Regions from separate parts of the Homo sapiens genome. Here region 1 is linked to region 2. The links are contacts of gene promoters, found by promoter capture Hi-C in blood cells and fetal thymus (Javierre and others, 2016). All regions are on one chromosome and are shown on one strand. The core of a region is centred on a gene start or on the middle of the fragment in contact, and the rest is flanking DNA. Distances in the headings are between cores, read along the strand shown.

What was found. The method cuts DNA at HindIII sites, captures the fragments that hold promoters and counts their contacts. A CHiCAGO score of 5 or more calls a contact.
Region 1: a contact is called between the fragment with the promoter of SBK1 here and the fragment with the promoter of ZNF267 in region 2, in 1 of 17 cell types (fetal thymus). The highest score is 5.8, in fetal thymus.

What each region holds. Positions count from the first base shown.
Region 1 is chr16:28,291,039-28,296,849 of GRCh38, reverse strand. SBK1 (SH3 domain binding kinase 1) reads right to left here and starts at 4,325. Exons shown (of 4, transcript NM_001024401.3): 1 at 3,550-4,325. It overlaps LOC124903670 (a long non-coding RNA gene), which reads left to right and starts at 4,785. Exons shown (of 2, transcript XR_007065033.1): 1 at 4,785-5,083. RefSeq lists silencers at 4,225-4,454, 4,662-4,833. The HindIII fragment of the contact is 5,383 bases long and covers 1-5,304 here.
Region 2 is chr16:31,870,377-31,876,002 of GRCh38, reverse strand. ZNF267 (zinc finger protein 267) reads right to left here and starts at 2,196. Exons shown (of 4, transcript NM_003414.6): 1 at 2,034-2,196. The coding sequence starts at 2,036. RefSeq lists silencers at 1,915-1,994, 2,145-2,194 and an enhancer at 2,081-2,375. The HindIII fragment of the contact is 12,710 bases long and covers 1-5,626 here.

The sequences.
Region 1 (5,811 bases), core at 3,076-5,575, 3.6 Mb after region 2:
TGCACCTAGAACCAGGTCAGGAGGGGAAGGGAAGGACTCGGGTTTGCTGTCCCTGGGACACATGGGGCAAGTGGGACAGAGAAAACAGGTTTTTGGTTGCTGGATGTCACTAGTTCAGGGGTAAGAGTGCAAGATGGGATCAAGAGTGGAAAGTGGAACCAGGCTGGAGAAGTTCAGGTTCACTTCACCACATAGCCCTTAAGACCCTGGGTGGACACTATTCTGTGCACGTTCTAACTTGACCATGGGGGTGGGAGGGAACACCCATGAGTGCAGAACACACACAGACGAAGGTTGCCCACCGAACAAAGATTTTTTGGGCTGTGTGTGGTGGCTGTAATCTCAGCATTTTGGGAGGCCAAGGCAGGTGGATCACCTGAGGTCAGGTGTTCGAGACCAGTCTGGCCAACATGGTGAAACCTCGTCTCTACCCAAAATACAAAAATTAGTTGGGTGTGGCCGGGTGTGGTGGCTTACACTTGTAATCTCAGCACTTTGGGAGGCCGAGGAGGGTGGATCACGAGGTCAGGAGTTCAAGACCAGCCTGGCCAAGATGGTGAAACCCCGTCTCTACTAAAAATACAAAAAATTAGCCAGGCATGGTGGCGGGTGCCTGTAATCCCAGCTACTCGGGAGGCTGAGGCAGAGAATTGCTTGAACCCGGGAGGTGGAGGTCGCAGCGAGCCGAGATTGTGCCACGACACTTCAGCCTGGGCAACAGAGCGAGACTCTGTCTAAAAAAAAAAAAAAAAAAAAATTAGCTGGATGTGGTGGTGGGCATCTGTAATCTCAGCTACTCAGGAGACTGAGTCAGGAGAATCACTTGAACCCAGGGGCTGGAGGTTGTAGTGAGCCGAGATCTCGCCATTACACTCCAGCCCGGGCAACAAGAGTGAAACTCTGTCTCAAAAAAAAAAAAAAAAAAAAAAGATTTTTCTGGGCCTGCAAACCCAGATGCCAGCATCGGGGGCCAGGAGGTGACCTAAGGGAGCGAACGGCTGCCTGGGGGTGGACTGGAAGGCAAGGGCCCTGTCTAAAGAAGGTGGTCATTCTCCCGCTGTGGCCTGAGGTTGCCACATCATCTGATTTTTCAAGAAGATCCAAAAATCAGCTTTTGTATGTGAAATTGCCTCCCCCCGACTTTTTTTAAGCACTCACAACAAAGACAAACATGTAAAATACATTGGACCAACAAAAATCGTCTATAGGCTGTATTTTACAGCACGTGCCCTACCATACGCTGGGCTCTGAATTAGACAATGCTGATGCAGTATGGACAAGACAAACCTGGTTCCCGTCTCCTGGAGCTGAGTCTAGATGTGGAGACAAACTCTCACTGCACATGTAGACACACGCCACTACCTCCAAGCCACCAAACCACCAACCAATCAAATTCAGCTCTCTACTACGTGCCAGCTCAGGTCAGCTCAAAAAGGGAGGTGGAGGCAGAAAACGGCTCCGGAGCCATCCTAGAGTGGGGCTTTTCAGGTCAGGGGAAGAGCACGTGACGGAGGCAGAGAATTAGAGGACACGGAGGAGATGGGCTAGGAGAGGTGGTTTAGGGCCAGGCTGCAGTCCAGAGACTATCTGGACTCAGCGACTTGATTCTGGACTCAATGGAGAGCCACTGCAGGTTAGTGAGGAGGGGAGGTCTTGCTCCTTGTCCTCCTCTGGCCTCCTCACAGTTTGCCCTGGACACAGTGACTCAAATTTCTGCTCTTCAGCCTCTGGTTCCACTGCCTTGCCTGTGGGGTGTGTGACAAAGCCCTGGGCTTCTGGGAACCCCCACTGGGGGGAAATGAACTCCTTCAGCAATGGGTAGAGCAAACCTGGATGCTTGTCCTGCCCAATTTCGATCTCCATCCGCCCTTCAAGCTGCAGAGAGGCTCACTCTCTGTCATTTTCTCTGGGAAGGGCCACGTGCTTGCCCAAGGTCACTCAGTCTTCAGGGCACCTGATTCCCCCACAGCCTGTGCTGAAGGTGGCTGCCTCAACTGTCCTGAAATTGGCAGGAGAGGCTGCCAGAGGTCTGCCCGCATCAAGTGCCCCCTACCCTCGTCTCCAGCTGGTCACATCCTCACCCTTGGGTCAGTGCCAGCAGCAGGTGGGGGTGGGGGCACTTGGTGCTGGGAAGGTGGGAGATGAGGAGTCAGCCACCCAGGCTCAGGGCTCCCAAGGCTGTAGCAGGACAGGGATCAGCTGCTTCAGGTGTAGGGTCAAGAATCTCTCAGCTGGACCTGGCCCGGTCCACTTCAACAGGCCCAATGGGACGTGCCCAGGGGTCTGATGATCAGGAGACATCAAGAAAGGAGATAGGAATGAAGTGGGGAAAAGGACCCTGACTCTAGCGCATGGTCCATCACAGACATTGGCGACAGGTTTGTTGAATGAATAAGTGAAGGAGCTACTGGCAGGGCTAGCTGTATCCTGGGTCCTGCCTTCCCGAGCCTCAGTTTGTGCACCTATCAAATGGGTCCAGCATCACTGCTTGTCTGCAGAAGGCTCAGAGAGAAGAGATGAGAGGAACTCCCAGCAGCCCAGAGTGTGTTCTTTCCATGCAGTCCAGCCCCTTCTCAGGATCTGATTCAGGATTTCAGGGTACAATGTCCCCTAGGGTCTCTCGGCTTCCTCATATGCGGTAGAGCCTGGGGTTCAGGACCTCACTGAGGGCCAGGCTGGGGTACGGCCGTGTGTACCACCTGGAAAGCCACAGTGAGACCCTGGAATTGGCCCTTGGTTGTCTGGGACACATTGAGCCAACCCTTGGTTTAACCTGGGTGTTCTCCAGGTTAGGAGGGGAAGGGAAAGACTTGGGTTGCTGTCCCTGGGACAAATGGGAACAGAACGGTGCCCTGACCTGAAATAGCTTCTTCATCTAGGCTACCTCTCCTCCCCAGAAACTAGCGCCTCACTTTGGGGGGTACTTACTCCCTCCCTGTCCCACAGGGAGTACAAAGTATGGTTTAGGTAAAGACCGCCAGTGTGGCCTGGGTCGGGCAGCAGAGTCACAGGGAAGATGCGATTCCCATTCATCCGCTCAAACACACCCCTTCCCCGCACTCTCACAGACAAAGACACACACCCGAAGCCCCAGCCATCACCCAGGGCCACATAAGGCAGCCCCCCTCACCTGTGGGCACCCCCAAATTTTCCCCTCTCGGGGGGACTTCACTAGAAGCTCAGCTTGGCCGTGGGGGAGGGGTATTCACACTCCAAGGACCTGGGGGCCAACCTCCAGGCTCGCAGCTTTTGGGGGGGGACTCTCCGCCCTCTTCCCCCCTCTCCATGGCACAACGGGCTCCACCACCACTCCTCCGTGGGGCCGGGGAGCTGCGCCCGAGCCTCAAGGCTAGGGAGTGGGGTGGGGGAAGGGAGAGGAGGAGGGGGCGGCTCCTCCAAGCGAGACACAAAGAGACGTCCTTCAGCCTCGGCTCCATGGCGACGCTGGGGAAGGGGGAGCGCGCAACCCGATACTTCCTTCCCCACCTGCAGGGCTATGGGGACCTCGGTGGCCACTCACCTGCCGCCCCTCACCTGGGCCCGGCTTACCTGGGCTGGGGCCGCGGGGACGCCGCGGCAGGGGGCCTGGGCGCCGTCGCGGTCTTCGTCTGCCCGGCCCCGGGGGCTCAGGGCGCCACGACCATGGACCGGGGTGCAAGCGGTGCCGCCAGGGGCTCAGTCGCCCAAGTCCTGGAGCTTTAGGGGGGGGATCCCCGAGGCTTCTTGCTGGTGAGAGTGTCTCTTGCTGTCCCCGGCTGCCTAGATTTGGGATTTCTATGTACCGGAGTTGGGGGGAATTGGGATCCCCTGATCTAGGGGCGTTCTGAGCTGGGTCTTCTTGTCTTGAGGTGTGGAGTTGTAATGACCGGATCTTGGGAGGGGGTTCTCGCAATCCCGGCCTGGGGGCACTGCGTTCTAGGTCTTGGGGCGGGGGCCCAGACTGAGGAGGGGGAGTCCTTGCGGTGCCGTAGGGGGCTTGCTGTCTTCTAAATACCGAGGAAGTCTCCGCTTTCCCCGCAGGGGAGTCGCTCGGTGTCGGATCCGGGAGGGCCCCCCCTCTTCCCCGAGGCTCGCCGGATCCTGGATGTGGAAGGGGGCTCCCCGCACTCCTCGGCTGCGGGGGCTTTAGTGGGTCCCGGCCACCGGCGGGCGCTGGAAGCCCCTCAGCCGCTGGGGGGCTCGGTCGCCGCCGCTACGAGCAGCCCGGCCCTGCGCTCCCGGCCCCCGGCCTGGCCCGGGCTCCGGCTGCGGCTCCAGCTCGCGCTCCGCCTGGCGCTCGGGCCCCGGCCCCGGCGCCCGCCCGGGCTGCGCTCCATCGCGGCATCGCGGCTCCGCCCTCCAGCCAGCGCGCACCTGCCCGCCCGGCCCGCGGCTCCGCCCTCCGGCTCGCGCGCCGCCGCCCGCCCCTTTGTCCGTCCCGCTCGGCGCGCGCCCTCGCGCAAGCGCGCTCACCCGCCGCGCGCCCGCCCTCCCGCCGCGCGCCGCGGAGCGCAGATTCTCCCCGCGCGGCGCCCCCACCCCCTTCCGGCCGCGCTGGGTCCTAGCGCCGGTGGCTCCCGAGCTGGCTCCCACCCCCCACCCCCCACCCACCCCACTCCTTTTCTAGGTCAGAGCCCACGAGGGGGCGAGAACGAGGTTACAGAGGACTCGGGGGAGTCTGAGAGGGTCACCTGGTCCAGCTTTCTGGGCCCTGCGGGACGAGACTGCCCCAGACTGTCCCGGTCTGTGCTAGTGGGGCGGAGCCTGTGTGTGTTTGAAGGAGGGAAAACAAATCCAGGTTCTGCATTCGGATATGCATTTCATTCATCCATGCGTCCGCCTGCCTGCCTGCGCTTCCATCCATCCATCCATCCGTCCGTCCATCCATCCATCCATCCATCCATGCATCCTATTTCCAGCGAGACGTCAGAGAACTCACAGTCTTCTTGGGGAAGAGGTCATAAACTTGGGCCTGGGTGGTTGCCCTATCCAACTGAGGTCGCCTTTGCGATCCCTGCTGCAAATAGGCAGTGACTAGTCCAGGAGTGCAGCTGGGAGGAACTGCTCGCCGGATAGAAGGGAAGAAAGGAGATTCTAGGCAGAGGTACAGCAGGTGTAAGGGATGTTGCATTGTCTGTTTGATAACCGGAAATTGGTGGCCTGGATGAAGTGGGTGGATGGGGACAGAGATGAGATAGGGACAGCTCGTCCTTCCAGGCCCTGTTCTTTCTCCTCCCTGCAGCTCACTCTTTCCCTAGTGAGAAAGCCCCAATAGGACGCCTTCCCTATTTCTTTCTTTTTTTTTTGTTTTTTTAGCTTCAAGCTTCAAAAGCATTTCTTTTTCATTCTTTTTTTTAATTATTATTATACTTTAAGTTTTAGGGTACATATGCACAACATGCAGGTTTGTTACGTATGTATACGTGTGCCATGTTGGTGTGCTGCACCCATTAACTCGTCATTTAGCATTAGGTATATCTCCTAATGCTATCCCTCCCCCTTCCCCCCACCCCACAACAGTCCCTGGTGTGTGATGTTCCCCTTCCTGTGTCCATGTGTTCTCTTTGTTCAATTCCCACCTATGAGTGAGAACATGCGGTGTTTGGTTTTTTGTCCTTGCGATAGTTTGCTGAGAATGATGGTTTCCAGCTTCATCCATGTCCCTACAAAGGACATGAACTCATCATTTTTTATGACTGCCCCTATTTCTTCTAAGTTTTTGATCAGGCTGTTTTCTCAACCCAGCGTAATCCTCCCAGCCACTCCCGACTGTTTCCAGAGCTTTAGGAGCCAGGGATTGCAAACGCAAGTACCTACAGGCGCAGACATGAG
Region 2 (5,626 bases), core at 947-3,446:
CCCTGAGATTCTGTTTTAAATTACTCCCAAAAAAAGAACAAACCTGAGAAACTTACTACACTCATTCTGCTGAAAAAAAAGATAGTAAGAATTTTTAACAATGAAGTATGACTTGATATTTTAATTTTCTGAAATCCACCTTTCATGGCCTTGGAAATGTTTTTTATCTTTCAAGCTCTACTGATGAAATTTACACTAACTGAAAAACTGAAGTAGAAATAAATGAACAATCTAAGGCAGCAAACTCAGGGAGTGGTAATGCTGTTGGAATACAGACATATCTGGCTCAAGTGTCAAGTCAGGTCACGGTATCATTTGAGACATTCTCCTACCCCAATACTGCTCATTAAAATGCTCAGGGACCATCCTCCCAGATCCTGCACTGTGCCCCATGGACACCGCAGCCGAGTTTGCACCACCTCACTGGGGTGGGGTTTTTGTTTTTTGGTCCTTTGGGAGTTTTTCTCCCTTCACAAATCTGAATGAATCTAGGGGGCAGGAATCATTTGTGACTGTTTCCCCTCAATACCAGCAAACGATTGGCTGACCAGCAATGTGTCTCCAAGGGATGAAAACTAGCTTTGAAGAAATAAAATCCTTATGTCCCAAGGGGTTATCTTTTTAGGTTAAGGGTGTCCCAGGAGATTTCTCTCAGCCCCAGGGCATCCAGCTGCTCCCCTGAGGGACTACATTTCCATACCTTGGGCGGTCCTCTAACAGGAGGTGACCTGGGGCTGACAGTCACTAAACACTCCAGGAGACATGGCCACTGTGGGCATCTTGAGTCATCCCAGACAGTTCTGAAATTCAGGAACAGGAAAAGACTGGATAGAGGGTGGCTATACAGGGCCCTGTAAAGTTTCCAAAGCAAAACCTCAAGTCAAAAGACATTCTTTCCGATAACGTGTCTGTGCCTGGGGAAGATGAATGAAAAAGAGGCACAGTTTTTTTTGCAGTGGAGTGTCAGGGATTTTTTATTCTCTGCTTTCCTCTCACGTGAAATGTATGCCAAAAAAACACAAATCTTTAAAAAAGTGTCATCCACTGCTCTGTGAAATCATGATTAATGAGTAAAATACTGTCTGAAATGTACAATAAATGACCAATAGTTAAGAATGTGAACTGGAGAGGGGAAGTTGGCCTTTGGAAATGTCGGGAAGGAACTGGAAATTTAATATTTTATTGCAAGCCCAGTTAGACTGGGGGAACACAGTGGTGGACTTGAGACTCTGCGTGCTACACGTTAGGAAAGCGCAGGGGGAAAACCAGTTCCCCTGGGCAGTGTTAAGATGATTAATGAGCAGGCGATTATACGGAAGTGGTTATAGTGCCCCAGGTTTCTAGGGAGAAAAACCAAAACCAAACTCAAATGCTTTTCTTGTAAATTACAACTTTAGGGGAAAACAAAATTCAGACTTAACGAACCACAAAGCTCCAATTCACCTCCACCTGCATAGTCTAAATAAGGCAACTACAAACTGTAACCCATCGGTTAATTTGGTCTGCTTCCTCATGCACCTTATAAAAACCTTTCCTTCAAGCCCCTCTGGGGATCTCCGAACCACAAACCAGGACTGCAGGCTTCCCATGTCACAAATCGCTATTTGCTCAAATTCTTCAACGTTTTAACAGTGACTCCCTTTAATTCTTAAGAGGAGTAGTGACTGAGGACCCCACAGGGCACGGTTTCTTCCCACACACCGAACCTGGGTCTCCCCTGAGACGCTCCCGTCCTCACCGCACAATCTGGGGGAGACGCGGGGCTGCGACGCGGAGCTGCCCAGAGAGGGCTCCGGCCAGGGACGAGGTCGCTCTGCGGGGTCGGGATGGGACAGGACACGCGGGGTCCCGGCTGCCGGCCTGGCCGCCATCTTGCAGCGGAGGGGACCGAGGGCCGAGCTGCACCAGTTGGGACTCGGGGCCCAGACCCCGAGGCTGACTGCGGGGAGGCCCGGGTGCCCCTACAGCGGGTTCCCGCCGCTTCCGACCACCGCCCTCCCTCCCTCTGGGGACCCCCGACCCCGCACACTCACCATTTCCCAGCTTCCGGGATGCCCTGGCGTCTTAGCTACGAATCTCCCAGTGCCTGCAAGTCGCAGAGCAACAGAGGTTCTGTTTATTCTCAGAACGCGAAGCCGCCTGGGCCTCCCAGAACGAAAGACTCGGAGCTGTGGCGAGGAGACCCGAGCTCTAACTGGAGCCGACGAAGGCCCCCGCCAAATCCCGGAAGCCGCCCCTGCTCTCCGGCTTCACTCCTGATTGGACGGTTTCCACTCCAGCGCCCCTGATTGGATAAAGCTCCATGCCCCGCCCCCTCATTATTAGTGCCTTTTTTTTTTTTTTTTTTGAAAGGGAGACTGGCTCATTGAGGTGGGGCCGCCTGCTGCGGGTATTACAGCTAATTAAGGGGTGAGCTGCGACTTGAAATACACTTGCTCTTTCCCTTACCTGGTTCTGCTTGTATAAGACATCTTATTAGCTAATTAAGTTTAAGAAGAAGTATATTTAGACACCTTTAAAGCAAGAAAGACCCTCATCCCGTCCCTTAGCACCTCTCTTACCGCACTGTACCCCACTGCTAACGCCACCGTGGGAGGGGGCCCCTCAGCTGGGAACAGAAGGCCGTACACTTCATTCACGTGTTTTCAATTAGGCCCTCGCATGATACATAGACTGAACCAGTGCAAAAGCATCTTATAGGGGCATGCAGGCTGGGGTCCCAGGAGGATGTTGCGGGCCGTGGTGGAACGTGGAAGAGGGGCTGGCCTATTCTTCTAATCTACAACTCTGCCCGCATCTCCTGGAGTCTGCATCACTGGTAACGGGGCCGCTGACTGTCCGTCTGTCTCTCCTTCTCAATCCCTTCAAGCTCAGGGAAGAAGGGTCCTTGGCAGCGACAGGGCTGGGAGCTCAGTTCCTCTGGGCCGTGCTGGCTCAGGCTCTGTGGCCACGGACTCCTCAGCCCTACCTCTGGTTTTTGCTTTTGTTTTGAGACAGGGTCTCACTCTATTGCCCAGGCTGGTGCAGTGGTGCAGTCATGGCTCACTGCAGCCTCCGGGGCTCAAGCAATCTTCCCACCTCAGCCTCCTGAGTAGCTGGGACTACAGGCACATGCCACCATGCCCGGCTGATTTTTGTATTTTTTGTAGAGATGAGGTTTCACCATGTTGCCCAGGCTGGTCTCCATCTCCTGAGCTCAAGCGATCCTCCCACCTTAGCCTCCCAAGTAACTGGGGCTACAGGTTAATAGTCAGTTCGCCAACTCCTGAGCTCAAGTATTCTGTCTGCTTTGACCTGCCAGAATGCCCTATTCCTGTTTTTCTGGAGTCTTGGAGCTAGTGGCGCTGCAGCACCTCGTAGTCTTCCGGCTGAGTAGATTCTCCTAGTCTTCTGGCTGAGTAGAAGGTGGGAGAGGAGGTGGGTGTCAAACTGGGCCAGGGCCCTCGGCCGCCATCTAGCTTGGTTAAACTCCCACTTGGGACAGATCAGGCTCTGTGCCTTATTCAGTGAGACGTGTGGAACAAATGCTTCCCTCCCCAAAGCAGAAACATCCCTGATTGCTGACAGTCAGGATTCCATGCACTTGTCTTGGCCTGGGGCATGGCTGCCTCTCACCCTCTCACCCAGTTCTAGTCGCTGCACTCTGTGGCCTCCCTGCCACCAGATTAGGTGTAGACAACGGGTGTGGGACAGGGCTGCTGACACCACTGGCTGACCAAACCCCTTTCCCACACTGAAGGGAGAAAAGACAGGAGGTTAGGGGCTCCCAAAGGCAGCACTGCTTGTGACAGCACCACGGGAGTCCTTAGGGCCTACTAAGGGGCTGGGCTGGAACTCAGGATCAACTCTGCCTGACTCCAAAGCCCATGCACCTCCATGGACCTCACAACTCAAGCAGCTTCCCTAGGCCTTTGAAATCCTGGAGATTGACTCTTTTGCGATAGAAGAAAGATTCCTTTTGATTCTCATCCTTCTAGTACTCTTCACAATTGGAAATAATCCCCACCAGAGAATGCTTCTGAAATGTCTTGGAAACATGTAGAATAATTTGGGAAAATGGCTGAAGGCTGAGTTTAAGAAATCAAGGCCTAACATTCTATTTTTCATTTCTTATAGGAGAGATTTGAAAGCACTTATAATGGACTCAATGTGTCTGCAAATTATTTTTGTCCCCTTTCAGTATTTGTAAGCTGTTGATGATTTTCAATACAGATTAACTCAAACTACTGTGACTGAAACAATCTTTTACTCTGAAAGCAAGAGATACAAAGGTATATCTGCTGAGAAGACATTTTTTTCTGCCACAATTTAGCCAAACAGCTGAGTACGTCTTAAAGTCAGCCTTTGATTTCTAACAAGTCAAGCTATTTGCCAAGACCACAGTCAGACCATATGACTTAACTACTTCATTGTCCCAGAATGTTGACCAGACAGATCGAAGCTCTGGGGGTGGAGTGGTGAGAGGACCCACGCTAGCAGGTGGGCAGCCATGGGTCCATATGTGAGAATCACTCATTAGGTGGGGTGTTTTGAGGTCCTGATATTTATGACACAATTAATGTGTATATTACTAAAAGTAAATTATAGAACATTACAAATAATAAATCTATATATAAACTAAACATGTCAGCAATTACAACTACTGTTATTTATCATTATTCTAAGTGTGATCATCATTATTACCACAATTAGAAATAGTAGTTGTGGATGCTGCTGCTGCTGCTGTTGCTGGAGGGATGGTGATAAAAACAGCGAGTAAGGCTCTGCTGCCTCCTTCACCTGCGGCATCGGGAGCTGCTGGCTCACTAGTTTGGTGCACACTCTGGACTTCTTTGGTGAAGCTGCAGCTGAAGAGCCTTCAGGCTCCGCTATGGCAGAATTTGAAGGTGGCAGGTAGGATGGTCCCAGGATGCAGTTGATGTTGAAGAGGTGCACACCACTTAGTGAATGAGTGAAAGCCTTTGGTGAAAGGCAGAGTTTCTACATGACACAGATCAGATTCCATTTTGACTGGGGCCAATCAGTGAAACAGACACATCTGCAGAACTGGAAATGGAGGACAAAGATTCAGTTGATGTGTTCCAGAAGCAGACAGGAGGGTCTACTGAGAACATACTCACTGCTTTACTCCAGAACTCTGTTTCTACAGACCAAGCAGACATTCTCACGTAGAAAATTGCAATATGTTTCCATCACATCTACTGGTCCAGCATCCCTTTCTCTCTTCTTCACTTTCCTGTTCCTCATTCCTTTATTGTACATAAATTATCGGGCGTAGCTGTACAAACATATTGATAATTTTTGTTTGCTTGTTTGTTTGTACTGAATGAACAACGATCATTGATTTCCAATGGCCATTGAGTCATTGGTGTTGAGTGATTTCCAATGAAGACAGCTGAGGGAAAACACTGTTTCTGTGAAAAAGACTCTCTTTCTCCACCAGGGACTGCTCACTCACTGTTTATCTCTATATTCCAGGACTTTAACAACAACAGTATAAAAAATATAGTGATCCTTTAGGTTTGTTGGGGGCAGGAAAAAAAAAGGGGGAATAACCTTTGCATACATTGTTCAATTAGAAAATTTTATTTTTAAAAATATATCATTGTAACGCTAAGAACAATTT